4 separate regions of the Homo sapiens genome follow, and regions 1, 3 and 4 are each linked to region 2. The links are contacts of gene promoters, found by promoter capture Hi-C in human tissues and cell types (Jung and others, 2019). All regions are on one chromosome and are shown on one strand. Each heading gives the region's core, a stretch centred on a gene start or on the middle of the fragment in contact. The rest is flanking DNA. Distances are from core to core; before and after follow the strand shown.

Region 1 (3,110 bases), core at 485-2,984, 570 kb after region 2:
TTCCGGGATGAAGCCCTTGTAAGGGATCTTGTTCTTACCCAGGGCCTGGGCTGCAAGGCACTGCAGGGTCACATAGCTGAAGGGCTGCATGGTACCCCTGGCCAGCAGCTTCTCTTCCAGCAGCGTGTAGGCCGTCTTCTTGAAGGCGTTGGTGGCGTCCATGTGGGCCCCTGCTTCAATCAGGGCATTCACGATGGCCGGGCAGTTGTTCTGGGCTGCTATGTGTAGCGGGGTGTTGTTGTCAAAATCCCTGCTGTCCCGGTCGGCCCCGCAGTCGAACAGCACTTTGACCACGTGCAAGGAGGGGAATCTGCCCACGGAGTAGCGGCCCACGTTTGTGGTGTCCTTGTCCACAGCCATGTGCAGAGGGGTGAAGCCGTTCTTGCCCTTGGGTGCGCACTTGAGCGGCGGTAGATAGTCTGGTGCTTCAGGTGCTCCTGGCTGGGGGTGCACTCCACTTTCTCCAGCAGGTAGAGCAGGTGGAGGATGATGACCAGCGCCTTGTTGAACTGGGTCGAGTCTCTAGGCTCCCTGAGCAGCTGCAGGGCCCATTCCACTTCCCGGACCCCTTTGGTGAGGACCCCCATGAGGTCTGCAAAGCCGATCTGGCTGCCCAGGCTGCCTTTGGCAGCCCGGTCCTGCAGCACGTAGGAGAAGAGTTCGGCGAAGGAGAGGAAGCTGCTGGCGGTCATGGGGCTCAGAGGCTCCAGGTTGCTCTGTTGCATGTCCAGGGCATACTTCCACAAGCGGATGTAGCACTCGATATTGCCCGAGTCGGCGTACACGGCGCCCCTGTAACGGATACAATAGGAAGTGTCGGGGTGCGAGGGACTGAGGATGCGCTCCCGGATCAACAGGGCCTGCATACGCATCTCATCGGGGTCGGTGATCAGCGCCTCCAGCTCCTCGGTGGTGTTGACCTCCCTGGAATAGTCATAGGCCAGGACCAGCTATGGGGGCTCCAGTTTGGGCAGGTACTCACCCCCCTGGTGACGCAGCTCCATGGCCCGCCTCCAGTGTTTAAGGGCCCCAAGCAGATCTCGTTTCTTATCCACATACGTAGATCCCAGCAATTTCAAGGCTTCCACGGCAGCTTCCCAGCTGGTGGGACAGCAGCTTTGGTAAGATTCCCCCGTTCAGTACCTCAGGGGAGAAGATGCAGCACGGAGCCCCCTGAGGCTGCGTACACCCCTGGCTGGTGGAGGAGCCTTCTTGGGGCAGCCCAGGCTGAGCCTCTACCCCTGTGACCCGCTCCTGGCCGGGCTGCTCTTGGATGAGGTACTCCACGATGTTGGTGTGGCCCGTCACGCTGGCCGGGAGCAACGGGGTCATGCCGTAGCTATCACGTTCCATGCTGGCCTTGCACCCCAGCAGCAGCTGCAGGATCTCCAGGCTGCTGGTCTCGGCACAGTTGTGCAGGGCCGTGTTGCCCTTGGCGCTGCGCCAGTTCACCTGGGCGCCCTGCTCCAGCAGGTAGCGGGCGATCTCACGGTGGCCCTTGTAGCACGAGATCATGAGGCACGTGTGGCCGTGCCGGTTGGCCAACTCCAGGTTGGCCTGGTGCTCGCCGACCAGGTAGCGCACCACCTCCAGGAGGCCCTCGAAGCAGGCGGCGCGGAGGGGCGTGGAGTTGGTGCGCGTGGTGCGGTTCACCGAGGCCCCGCGGCGCAGCAGGCTCCCCACCACGTCCAGGTGGTCCGCGCCCACAGCGGCGGCGCACCCTCCATGGTCTCGCCATCGAAGTGCACCGAGCCACCGGCCTCCACGCTCGCGCCGCACGGGTCCACCAGGTACTCCACCACGTCCAGGTGGCCGTAGCAGGCGGCGATGAGCAGAGGCGTCCCCCCGCCGGCCACCTAGCCAGTCAGCTCGTCCAGTTCCTCCCGGCTCCGGCCGCTGAGCAGCTTCTGGAGCAGCTGCAGCTTGCCGTCACGGGCGGCGTTGTACACGGCGGTGCGGGGGTCTTTGGTTCGGGCCTGCGCCAGGCCATGAGCCGGCCGCAGGGGGAGGGGGAGACAGAGGATCACAGCCCAGACAGGCGGGAGCCAACCTTCACGGTCTCCCTCGCCGCCATCTTAGGGTGTCCTAGAGACTTTTAAATATGCAGATTATTGACCTGAGAAACCATTTCGTCTCCAAAGGAACATTTGCAGGCTGTCATGCAAATCTGCACTTGAGCAACTTTCACATTATGATCTTAGTGAATTCTTGACCAGATGGACTTGAACAGCTGCCACCCATGCTTGGGAAGTCCCTTTACTCGAGAAGAGAAAATAGCTCATTTGTTTGCAATTCTTTCCTGAAAGTACATAAGGGCAATTTTCTACATTGTGACTAGTATCAGAGCAACATTTTCCCTGAAAGACCATAGTTCATTATACTATTTAGGAACAAACAAACAAAAATATATACAAACATTTTTTGGGGAGTTTTATAATTTGTGCCCAGAAGGGACAAGTTTCTTTTCAGATTAAGTTTTAAAAAATGTTCCTTTATTCAAGCTGACATGGAGGTTATAACTGAGAAAAACCTCCCTCTGAAATTAGAATGCCTTACATTTGTATAACATTTTATACTTTTCAAAGTGCTTTCAGGCACATTATTTCATCTGATCTTCAAAACAGCTCAGTGAGGCAGGTAAAATGGGTGTTTTTATTCCTTACTTTTTAGATAAGGAAATAGGTTCAGACTACAGATATTATCTGAGTATCTACTAACTTCATTGTATTGTGCTAGGTGTCATAGAGGATAAAATAACATGTATTCCTAAAAGAAGAACCTTGGTTTTAGATAAGACATAACAACACAAAGCTAAATAATACATAAATGTACAATATGGTCAAAAGATGACAAAAGACAATATATGGTCAAAGTATTAGAAGCACAAGCAAACTGTGTTCTCAGATTAAGGGAGACTTCTTAAAGCAGGTGCCACCCGAATATATATGCCTGGAAGGAGGTTTGGAATTTGTGGAATATTTACTCTTTGGCATCAAAATCACTTTCTCATATAACCTTAGAATGTAAGAGATTTTGGCATTCATCTAGTTTGTTCTGATACTCGATGTTGGCACTCCCTATGGCCCCCTAAGCAAAGATGTTGGAATAGC
Region 2 (3,253 bases), core at 636-3,135:
TTCAACACACGGAAATGGGTTCCCTCCCTCACACCACATTCCCAATATGTATTCTCAACATTCAGAACCTCCTTCTAGAATTCCACCCTGTGGCTCCCAGCACGGCTTGGGACTCCAGTGGCGTGAGGCCAGCCAGACTGTGGTCCCCACACTTGAAATACTGGAAGGTTGTGATCATCTGCAAAGCCCAAGGAAAGCTCTGGTAGTGATATGGCCCCGTGCATCCTGCCCTGGCTTGCAGGGCAGTGGCACTTCTGCTTATTGTGAGTATAATGATTCTTTTGGGGGTTGAAGGTCAGTTTTAGGTGTCAGAGAAGGAGTGGGGTCCAGAAACTATTGCGAAAGGCCAGGATATTTGGTGAGAGGACATCCTTTGTTCTTTTTTGCTGGAGTAAGGAAAGCCTGTGTGGTTGATAAAGCCTGGCATGGCATGTGTAGTCCTGGAGGAGGGGTGAGAGCCTTGGGCAAAGAGGGGCGTGGTAGGGCCACAGATGAGGGCTCCCAGGCACTGGGCCTCCTTCCCAAAGAACAATCATCAGGACATCCCAGAGACCACTGTCCAGGAGAAACGGGGTGACAAGCCCTCTTTGAGCTCGGGAGCATTTTAATCAGTGCTCAAGAGGAAGAGAAAAGAAACAAAAAGTGCAACCAGCCAGAAAAACAACCAAGCAGCTACCCACCCAACCACCCATCCACCCACCCACTGACCCAACCAACCACTCCCCCACCCAACCACCTATCCATCCACCCACCGACCCAACCAACCAACCAACCAACCACCCACACAACCACCCATCCACCCAACCCACTGACCCAACCAACCAAACCAAGCAACCACCCACCCAACCACCCATCCACCCACCCACTGACCCAACCAACCTAGCAACCACTCACCCAACCACCCATCCATCCACCCACTGACCCAGCCAACCAACCAACCAACCAACCACCCTCCCAACCACCCATCCACCCACCCACTGACCCAACCAACCAACCAAGCAACCACCCACCCAACGACCCACCCACCCACCCACTGACCCAACCAACCAACCAAGCAACCACCCACCACCCACCCACCCACTGACCCAACCAACCAACCAAGCAACCACCCACCTACCCAACCAACCCCCACTTACCCAATCAACCAACCAAGCAACCATCCACTCACCCAACCAACCACCCACCCACCCAAGCAACCAATCAACGAACCAAGCAACCACCCACCTACCCAACCAACTACCCCCCACCCACCCAAGCAAGCGAGCAAGCGAGCAAGCAACCAAGTAACCATCTACTCACTCAACCAAGCAACCACCCACCTACCCAACCAACCAATCAACCAACCAAGCAACCACCCACCTACCCAACCAACCAATCAACCAACCAAGGAACCACCCACCTACCCAATCAACGAACCCCCCACCCAACCAGCCAAGCAACCAAGTAACCATCCACTCACCTAACCAATCAACCAATCAACCAATCAGGCAACCACCCACCTACCCAACTAACTAACCCGTAACCACCCAACCAACCAAGCAAGCAACCACCTGCTCACCCAACCAACCAATCACCAAACAAGCAACCACCCACCCACCCACTCAACCAACCAACTACCCAACCAAGCAACCACTCACCCAACCAACCATTCAACCGACCGACCGACCGACCGACCGACCCACCGACCCGACCGACCAACCAACCAACCAAGCAACCATCCAACCATTCAAGAGTGTGTTCGGGGGGATTTTCGCTCGGGGCTGACGCGGTTCTCTGGCCGCTGTGCCGTGCTGGGCCACTAGGTGGCAGCGGAGGCCGCCCGGAGCGACAGCCGGCGGTGCGGAGGCGGGCCCGGCGCGGGCAGGCAGGAGGCTTAAAGCCCCGCAGAGCCGCAGCCGCCTAGCTGGGGGAGAGGCCCGTCCGGGGCTGGCTCTGAGCGCCGCACGGCCGTCGGATCCCGGGGACGCCGGGGGCCCGGGCTGAGCGCCGCGGCCCGCGAGGAGGAGCACCGGTAAATAGCCACAACTTTCTATCTCCTTGAGATCCTGAGAATAAATGCAAAATCGCGCTTCCGCTGCATGTGGAAGTGAGCGGGGCGGCAGCTAGCTTGCCCCGTGAGTTTTTAACACAGCTCGATATGATGTTTAGTATAATTGCATAATTTACCGATATATCTGAGCTGGAACTCAGCTGTAACAAATGATTGTAGTTCAATAAATGCTTAGATTACCAATTTTTTCCTTTTTTATTTTTATAGATTTAGGGGGTACAGGTGCTGTTTTGTTATATGGATGTATTGCATAGTGGTGGAGACTGGGCTTTTAGTGTAGCCATCACCCCTATAGTGTACATTGTACCTATTAAGTAATTTGTTGTCCCTCACCCCCTCCCTCCCTCCCAAAGTGATTACAAATATTAATGATGACAGTGATGACAGAAATTCTCTCCAGATGTGATCTGAGTTTGGAGGGCAAAGGGATTTTTGAAAATGAATCATAAGAGAGAAATTTTGCAACAAAGGAGTGTGGTACATTTAAATTGCTGTTTTTTTTTTTAAATACTGTGCTCACGCGGACCTAATAAACTATCAAGCAGACCTCATGGAATTCCACATAATGCAGAAGCGAGGGAAAAATAGGTATTGAGGGAAAAGCAGCACTGTTTTCCTCAATTTTAACACGTATGTGCAGCCTACACTTACAAACTTAAGACAGTAGCTTTTAACATGTGACTTTGCTCAGGGTAACAGACCATTCTGGTTATAGCCTTACTTACAGCTGTGGAGGCTGAATCCTGATGGGTCTAAGAAGTGTCAGGACAAGTGTTAGGGATGCACCTGTCTGTCTGTCTTAAGGGAATACGGGTCTGGGCAGTCTTAAATCGGAGCTCCCTTGAGGAGAATGTCGTGCAGTAGCCTTAGGAATGTGAACATTGGGAGACTGGCTGGGATTTTGTAGGTTATGAGTTGGGGACACTTATGATAGTGAACTTGAGCCCAGGAGAGAAGCCATAAAAAGTGAAACTGTCCTGGGCACTTGGAGGTGAGTGTCTCTCTAGTAAGATGCATGTGAAAGGCTGGGAGCTGAAAGCAAGGAGAGCAGAAGAGGCTGGTGAAGATTCTAATCTGCGTGTCCAGGGGCACTCTTCCAGGTCTCAGGAACGCAGGTCAGAATGTGCAAGCCAGCTGCCGGGCACGTGGCTCACCCCTGTAGTACCAGCACTTTGGGAGGCTGAGAGAGAAGATCGCTTGTGG
Region 3 (3,070 bases), core at 378-2,877, 600 kb after region 2:
AGAGATTGCAGTATAGACAGGTGTTAGAAATTATAAAAGTATTAATTTTGGGAACTGATAAATGTCCATGAAATCTTCACAATTTATGTTCCTCTGCTGTGGCTCCAGCTGGTCCCTCTGTTTGGGGTCCCTGACTTCTGGCAACATTATAGGAATGCTTATGATTTTAGCCCATTAATTTTGTATCCTGAGACTTTGCTGAACTTGCTTATCAGCTTAAGGAGATTTTGGGCTGAGACGATGGGGTTTTCTAAATATACAATCATGTCATCTGCAAATAGGGACAATTGGACTTCCTCATTTCCTAATTGAATACCCTTTATTTCTTTCTCTTGCCTGATTGCCCTGGCCAGAACTTCCAACACTGTGTTGAACAGGAGTGGTGAGAGAGGGCATCCCTGTCTTGTGGTGGTTTTCAAAGGGAATGCTTCCAGTTTTTGCCCATTCAATATGGTGTTGGCTGTGGGTTTGTTTTAAATATCTCTTATTATTTTGAGATACATTCCATCATACCTAGTTCATTGAGAGTTTTTAGCATGAAGGGCTGTTGAATTTTGTCAAAGGCCTTTTCTGCATCTATTGAGATAATCATGCGGTTTTCGACATTGGTTCTGTTTAAGTGATGGATTACATTTATTAATTTGTGTATGTTGAACCAGCCTTGCATCCCAGGGATGAAGCCCACTTGATCATGGTGGATAAGTTTTTGATGTGCTGCTGGATTTGGTTTGCCAGTATTTTATTGAGGATTTTCGCATTGATGTTCATCAGGGATATTGGTCTAAATTTCTCTTTTTTTGTTGTGTCTCTGCCAGGCTTTGGTATCAGGATGATGTTGGCCTCATAAAATGAGTTAGGGAGGATTCCCTCTTTTTCTGTTGATTGGAATAGTTTCAGAGGGCATGGTACCAGCTCCTCTTTGTACCTCTGGTAGAATTCGGCTGTGAATCCGTCTGGTCCTGGACTTTTTTTGGTTGGTATGCTATTAATTATTGCCTCAATTTCAGAACCTGTTATTGGTCTATTCAGAGATTCAACTTCTTCCTAGTTCTGTCTTGGGAGGGTGTGTATGTCCAGGAATTTATCCATTTCTTCTAGATTTTCTAGTTTATTTTCATAGAGGTGTTTATAGTATTCTCTGGTGGTAGTTTATATTTCTGTGAGATTGGTGGTGATATCCCCTTTATCATTTTTATTGAGCATATTTGATTCTTCTCTCTTTTCTTCTTTATTAGTCTTGCTAGCAGTCTATCTATTTTGTTGATCTTTTCAAAAAACCACTTCCTGGATTCACTGATTTTTGGAACGGTTTTTTGTGTCTCCATCTCCTTCAGTTCTGCTCTGATCTTAGTTATTTCTTGCCTTCGGCTAGCTTTTGAATTTGTTTACTCTGGCTTCTCCAGTTCTTTTAATTTTGATGTTAGGCTGTTGATTTTAGATCTTTCCTGCTTTCTCTTGTGGGCATTTAGTACTATAAATTTCCCTCTACACACTGCTTTACATGTGTCCCAGAGATTCTGGTATGTTGTTTCAAAGAATATCTTTATTTCTGCCTTCATTTCATTTTTTATCCAGTAGTCACTCAGGAACAGGTTCTTCAGTTTCCATGCATTGTGCAGTTTTGAGTGAGTTTCTTAATCCTGAGTTCTAATTTGATGGCACTGTGGTCTGAGAGACAGTTTGTTGTGATTTCTGTACTTTTACATTTGCTGAGGAATGTTTCACCTCCAATTATGTGGTCAATTTTAGAATAAGTGTGATGTGGTGCTGAGAAGAATATATATTCTGTAGAGTTGGGGTGGAGAATTCTGTAGATATCTATTTAGGTCCATGTGGTGCAGAGCTGAGTTCACGTCCTGGATATCCTTGCTAAGCTTCTGTCTCATTGATCTACTATTGAGAGTGGGGTGTTGAAGTCTCCCATTATTATTGCATCAGAGTCTAAGTCTCTTTGTAGGTCTCTAAGGACTTGCTTTACGAATCTGGGTGCTCCTGTATTAGGTGCATATATATTTAGAATAGTTAGCTCTTCTTGTTCAATTGATCCCTTTACCATTATGTAATGACCTTCTTTGTCTCTTTTGATCTTTGTTGGTTTAAAGTCTGTTTTATCAGAGATTAGGATGGCAACCCCTGCTTTTTTTGCTTTCCATTTGCTTGGTAGATCTTCCTCCATCCCTTTATTTTGAGCCTATGTGTGTCTCTGCATGTGAGATGGGCCTCCTGAATACAGCACACTGATGGTTTTGACTGTTTATCCAATTTGCAAGTCTGTGTCTTTTAATTGGGGCATTTTGCCCATTTACATTTAATAGTGTTATATGTGAATTTGATCCTGTCATTATTATGTTTGCTGGTTACTTTGCCCCTTAGTTGATGTAATTTCTTCATAGTGCTGATGGCCTTTGCAATTTGGCATATTTTTGCAGTGGCTGGTACCAGTTGTTCATTTCCATGTTTAGCGCTTCCTTCAGGAGCTCTTGTAAGGCAGGCCTGATGGTGACAAAATCTCTCAGCATTTGCTTGTATGTAAAGGATTTTATTTATCCTTCACTTATGATGTGTAGTTTGGCTGGATATGAAATTCTGGGTTGGAAATTCTTTTCTTTAAGAATGTTGAATATTGGCCCCCACTCTTTTCTGGCCTGTAGGGTTTCTGCTGAGAGTTCCGCTGTTAGTCTGATGGTTTTCTCTTTGTGGGTAACCCGACCTTTCTCTCTGGCTGCCCTTAACATTTTTTCCTTCATTTCAACCTTGGTGAATCTGACAATTATGTGTCTTGGAGTTGCTCTTCTCGTGGAGTATCTTTGTTGTATTCTCTGTATTTCCTGAATTTGGATGTTGGCCTGCCTTGCCAGGTTGGGGAAATTCTCCTGGATAATATCCTGAAGAATGTTTTCTAACTTGGTTCCATTCTCCCTGTCACTTTCAGGTACACCAATCAAATGTAGATTTGGTCTATTCACATAGTCCCATATTTTTTGGAGGCTTTGTTCATTACTTTTTACTCTTTTTTCTCTAATCTTGTCTTCTCACTTTATTTCATTAATTTGATCTTCAATCACTGATA
Region 4 (3,281 bases), core at 150-2,649, 590 kb after region 2:
CTATCCTGTGCCCATAAGAATCCCAAGCCCCAGACTCAGTGGACACACACACAGAAGAGAGAAGTGTCTGGATATTGAGATGAGAAGAAGCAGCTGGAGGTCAGGGACTATGGTCAGAGAGGAGTTCAGCTGGAGACATCTGGGCTTCAGGGGAAGATTATCTTCCTGCTCCATCCCCTTTCCAGCTCCCTTTCCTACTGAGGCCCACTTTTACCACTCAATAAAGTCCTCCACATTCACCATCTTCAATTTGTTCATGTGACCTGATTCTTCCTGGACACTGGATCAGAACTCAGGTACCAAGACAGCAAAGTGTAAAAGGCTGTCACCCTCACCTTCCACTGAGCTGGTTAACACTTAGCCATCCACAGACAGCAAATGTTAAAGGAGCACTGATTGTAACACAGGCCCTCTGGGGCTCTGGGGGTCGCAGACAGCCCCTCCCAGACCGCAGAGCTAAAAGACCATTGTAACACACTTTGACACTGCTGCAGAACCCACACAAAGCTTGCTCCCGCCGGAGAGGAGCCACAGGCCAGTTCCACATTCATTTGCTCTGGGTCCCACACCCATCCACTCATGTGCTTCCTTCCATAAGGGATTCAGCATGGTAAACAAGTAAACAAGTCACTCATGTCACAAGTCCCGCAAAGGGGTCAAGGGAACACTCTTGTTTCAGAACCACTGAAGAAATTCAAAGAATCTGTGATAAGCTTCTTAACAGTGCCCTGGGATCTTGTGATTTCCCAGGATAGAAATCAAGAGAGATCACCAGAGGCAGCAATGAAGAGAGTTTATTACCTCTCAGGGAGCCAGTCATGAGAGAACAAAAAGGAGTGGGCTGTTCCCCGAAGATACTGTGTGGTTCGGTTAGGTATAGGGTCTTTCCATAGGGAAGGATTCCCTCAGGGAATGTATAGGGGGAGTTTTGCTAGCACCTGCACAATGGCTCAACATGTTTCTTCATACATTTCATGTAGCATTAGCATTTTAAATCTCCACCCCTGGGCATGAACTTTAGTGTTAAAATGAGGAAAAGATAACTTTAGGTTGGAGTTTAAGTCTGACTCCACATATGGGACTCTGGGAAAGCCTCTAGCCCCCTGAAATAGAAATTTGCAATTAATAGCTTCCTTGGTCTTTTATTGCTGATTGGCTGAGAGTTAGACAAGCTAGAGCTTGAGTAGAGGGGCTTTTATCCTTTTCCTTCAGACAATCTTAAGATAGGGAACCAACCAGTCGGCCTGTCTCAGGCTCTAAGGAAAATTCTGAGAGGTCAGCAAGAAACCTAATATTATAAACAACAGTGCCATCAGCACTTATTTAAATATATAAATATAAATTTTAAAGGCCCTATTAAAGTCATTCTGAGCCTGTACATTTAAACCGTTCTAAAGGTTTACGGGTATTTAGATACGAGAAGAAATTAGACCCAAATTATGCATCAATATCCAATACGTGTGCACTGTGTATTCAAGATCAATATAATCTCCCACAGACTGTTCTGCTGAGTTAGCTAATATACAAAGACTTAGTTTGTTTTCTATATGTTAGAACATGAAAGAAAAGATATGTAGCTCACTGCCATTCCAAAATCCCAACAAATTATGGAACTGCCTCCATTGTGAAGCTGGCTAGTTTTCTTTTTTTTTTTTTTTTTTAACGGAGTTTCACTCTTGTCGCCCAGGCTGGAGTACAGTTGAGCAATCTCAGCTCACTGCAACCTCTGCCTTCTGGGTTCAAGCGAGTCTCCTGCCTCAGCCTCCCAAGTAGCTGGGATTACAGGCATCTGCCACCACACCCGGCTAATGTTTTGGAATTTTAATAGAGATGGGGTTTCACCATGCTGGGCAAGCTGGTCTCGAACTCCTGACCTCAGGTGATCTGTCCACCTTGGCGCTAGTTGTTTTTTAAAAGCCATCTTTCTAATGAAATGTAACACTGATGATTGCCTTACACATAGATGACATTAGGCCTCACATAGTAATCTCAGTGCTAACTACATGTCTTACCCTTCCTAAAATTTTACATTTTCTCTGTGGTTAAAGTCATCTTACAAAAAGACCCACATTTTACAAAGATTTAATTGTCTTGGATTTCAAATTACAACTAGTTTGATAGCCAAAAGGTTAAAAACAAATTGATTTTATGAAAAATTCTTATAGTATTAAATTCGACATGGATTACCATTAATAATAGAATCCTCTGCTGGCTGTGAGACATGCAAAGTTGCAAAGCCCAGATCCACAGATTAGAAAGGATTTTGACATGTATAATTGTCTTAGTCAGTTTGGGCTGCTATAACAAGATATCATAGACTGAGTGATTTAAACAACAGAGATTGATTTCTGGAGTTCTGGAGCCTAGGATAGTCCAGGGTCAGGGTGTCAGCAGACTGTGACTGGTGAAGACCCCCTTCCTGGTTTGCAGATGCTGTCTTCTTGTATCCTTAGATGGTGGAGAGAGAGATCATCTTTTCTTATAAGGGCAGGAATCACACCTATGAGGGCTCCACATTCATGACCTAATCACCTCCCCAAGGCCCCACCTCCAAATATCATCAACTTGGGGGTTAGGCTTCAATATATGAATTCTGGGGGGACACAGATATTCATTCACAGTAATAGTGAGCACTGTTGACAGCACACACAGATACCCCACATTCTTTTGCTCTTTCTGTAAGCCTCTTCCAGCTGCTTTGTGCTTTGCTTCCGAAGGCCTGCAACTGAGACTTTTTTTTTTTTTGAGACTGAGTCTTCCTCTGTCACCCAGGCTGGAATGCAGTGGCATGATCTCAGCTTACTGCAACCTCTGCCTCCTGGGTTCAAGCAATCCTCCTGCTTCAGCCTCCTGAGTAGCTGGGATTACAGGCACCTGCCACCAAACCTGGCTAGTTTTTGTATTTTTAGTAGAGATGAGGTTTCACTATATTGGCCAGGCTGGTCTCAAACTCCTGACCTCTTGATCCGCCTGCCTCAGCCTTCCAAAGTGCTGGGATAACAGGCATGAGCCACCACACCCGGCTGCAACTGAGACTGTCTTTAAGGATCTCTGCATGGAGCTGGGAGAATGGGGAGTTTTAACCCTCTGTGCAGTTCTTAGGCAATGACTGACTGACTGGTCCAAGTGTCTGACAATCTGACTCCCTGGCCTCAAGCTGGATGAGGCTGAAGCTGGACTTTGACAAAATCACACACTTTCTTGGGTTCTCTCTCTTCCATATCCTTCTTTCCCTTCTCCTTCCCTGTCTTCCTCTGAGATCACCTTCTTAATAAATTACT

What was found. Contacts are between HindIII fragments. The study calls those that stand out against the background at their distance.
Region 1: a fragment that was not itself captured here is called in contact with the fragment with the promoter of MC5R in region 2 in 1 of the 25 tissues and cell types used here (dorsolateral prefrontal cortex).
Region 3: a fragment that was not itself captured here is called in contact with the fragment with the promoter of MC5R in region 2 in 1 of the 25 tissues and cell types used here (dorsolateral prefrontal cortex).
Region 4: a fragment that was not itself captured here is called in contact with the fragment with the promoter of MC5R in region 2 in 2 of the 25 tissues and cell types used here (lymphoblastoid cells and spleen).

Annotation. Positions count from the first base shown.
Region 1 is chr18:14,391,943-14,395,052 of GRCh38, forward strand. It overlaps the pseudogene FEM1AP2. Among named protein-coding and RNA genes, the nearest start is that of POTEC, 150 kb to the right of the region's middle. The HindIII fragment of the contact is 3,708 bases long and covers 1-3,110 here.
Region 2 is chr18:13,822,264-13,825,516 of GRCh38, forward strand. MC5R (melanocortin 5 receptor) reads left to right here and starts at 1,886. Exons shown (of 2, transcript NM_005913.3): 1 at 1,886-2,011. RefSeq lists silencers at 1,555-1,735, 1,701-1,990, 2,001-2,090. The HindIII fragment of the contact is 21,381 bases long and covers 1-3,253 here.
Region 3 is chr18:14,424,606-14,427,675 of GRCh38, forward strand. No RefSeq gene overlaps it. Among named protein-coding and RNA genes, the nearest start is that of POTEC, 120 kb to the right of the region's middle. The HindIII fragment of the contact is 3,526 bases long and covers 1-3,070 here.
Region 4 is chr18:14,408,616-14,411,896 of GRCh38, forward strand. No RefSeq gene overlaps it. Among named protein-coding and RNA genes, the nearest start is that of POTEC, 130 kb to the right of the region's middle. The HindIII fragment of the contact is 5,013 bases long and covers 1-3,281 here.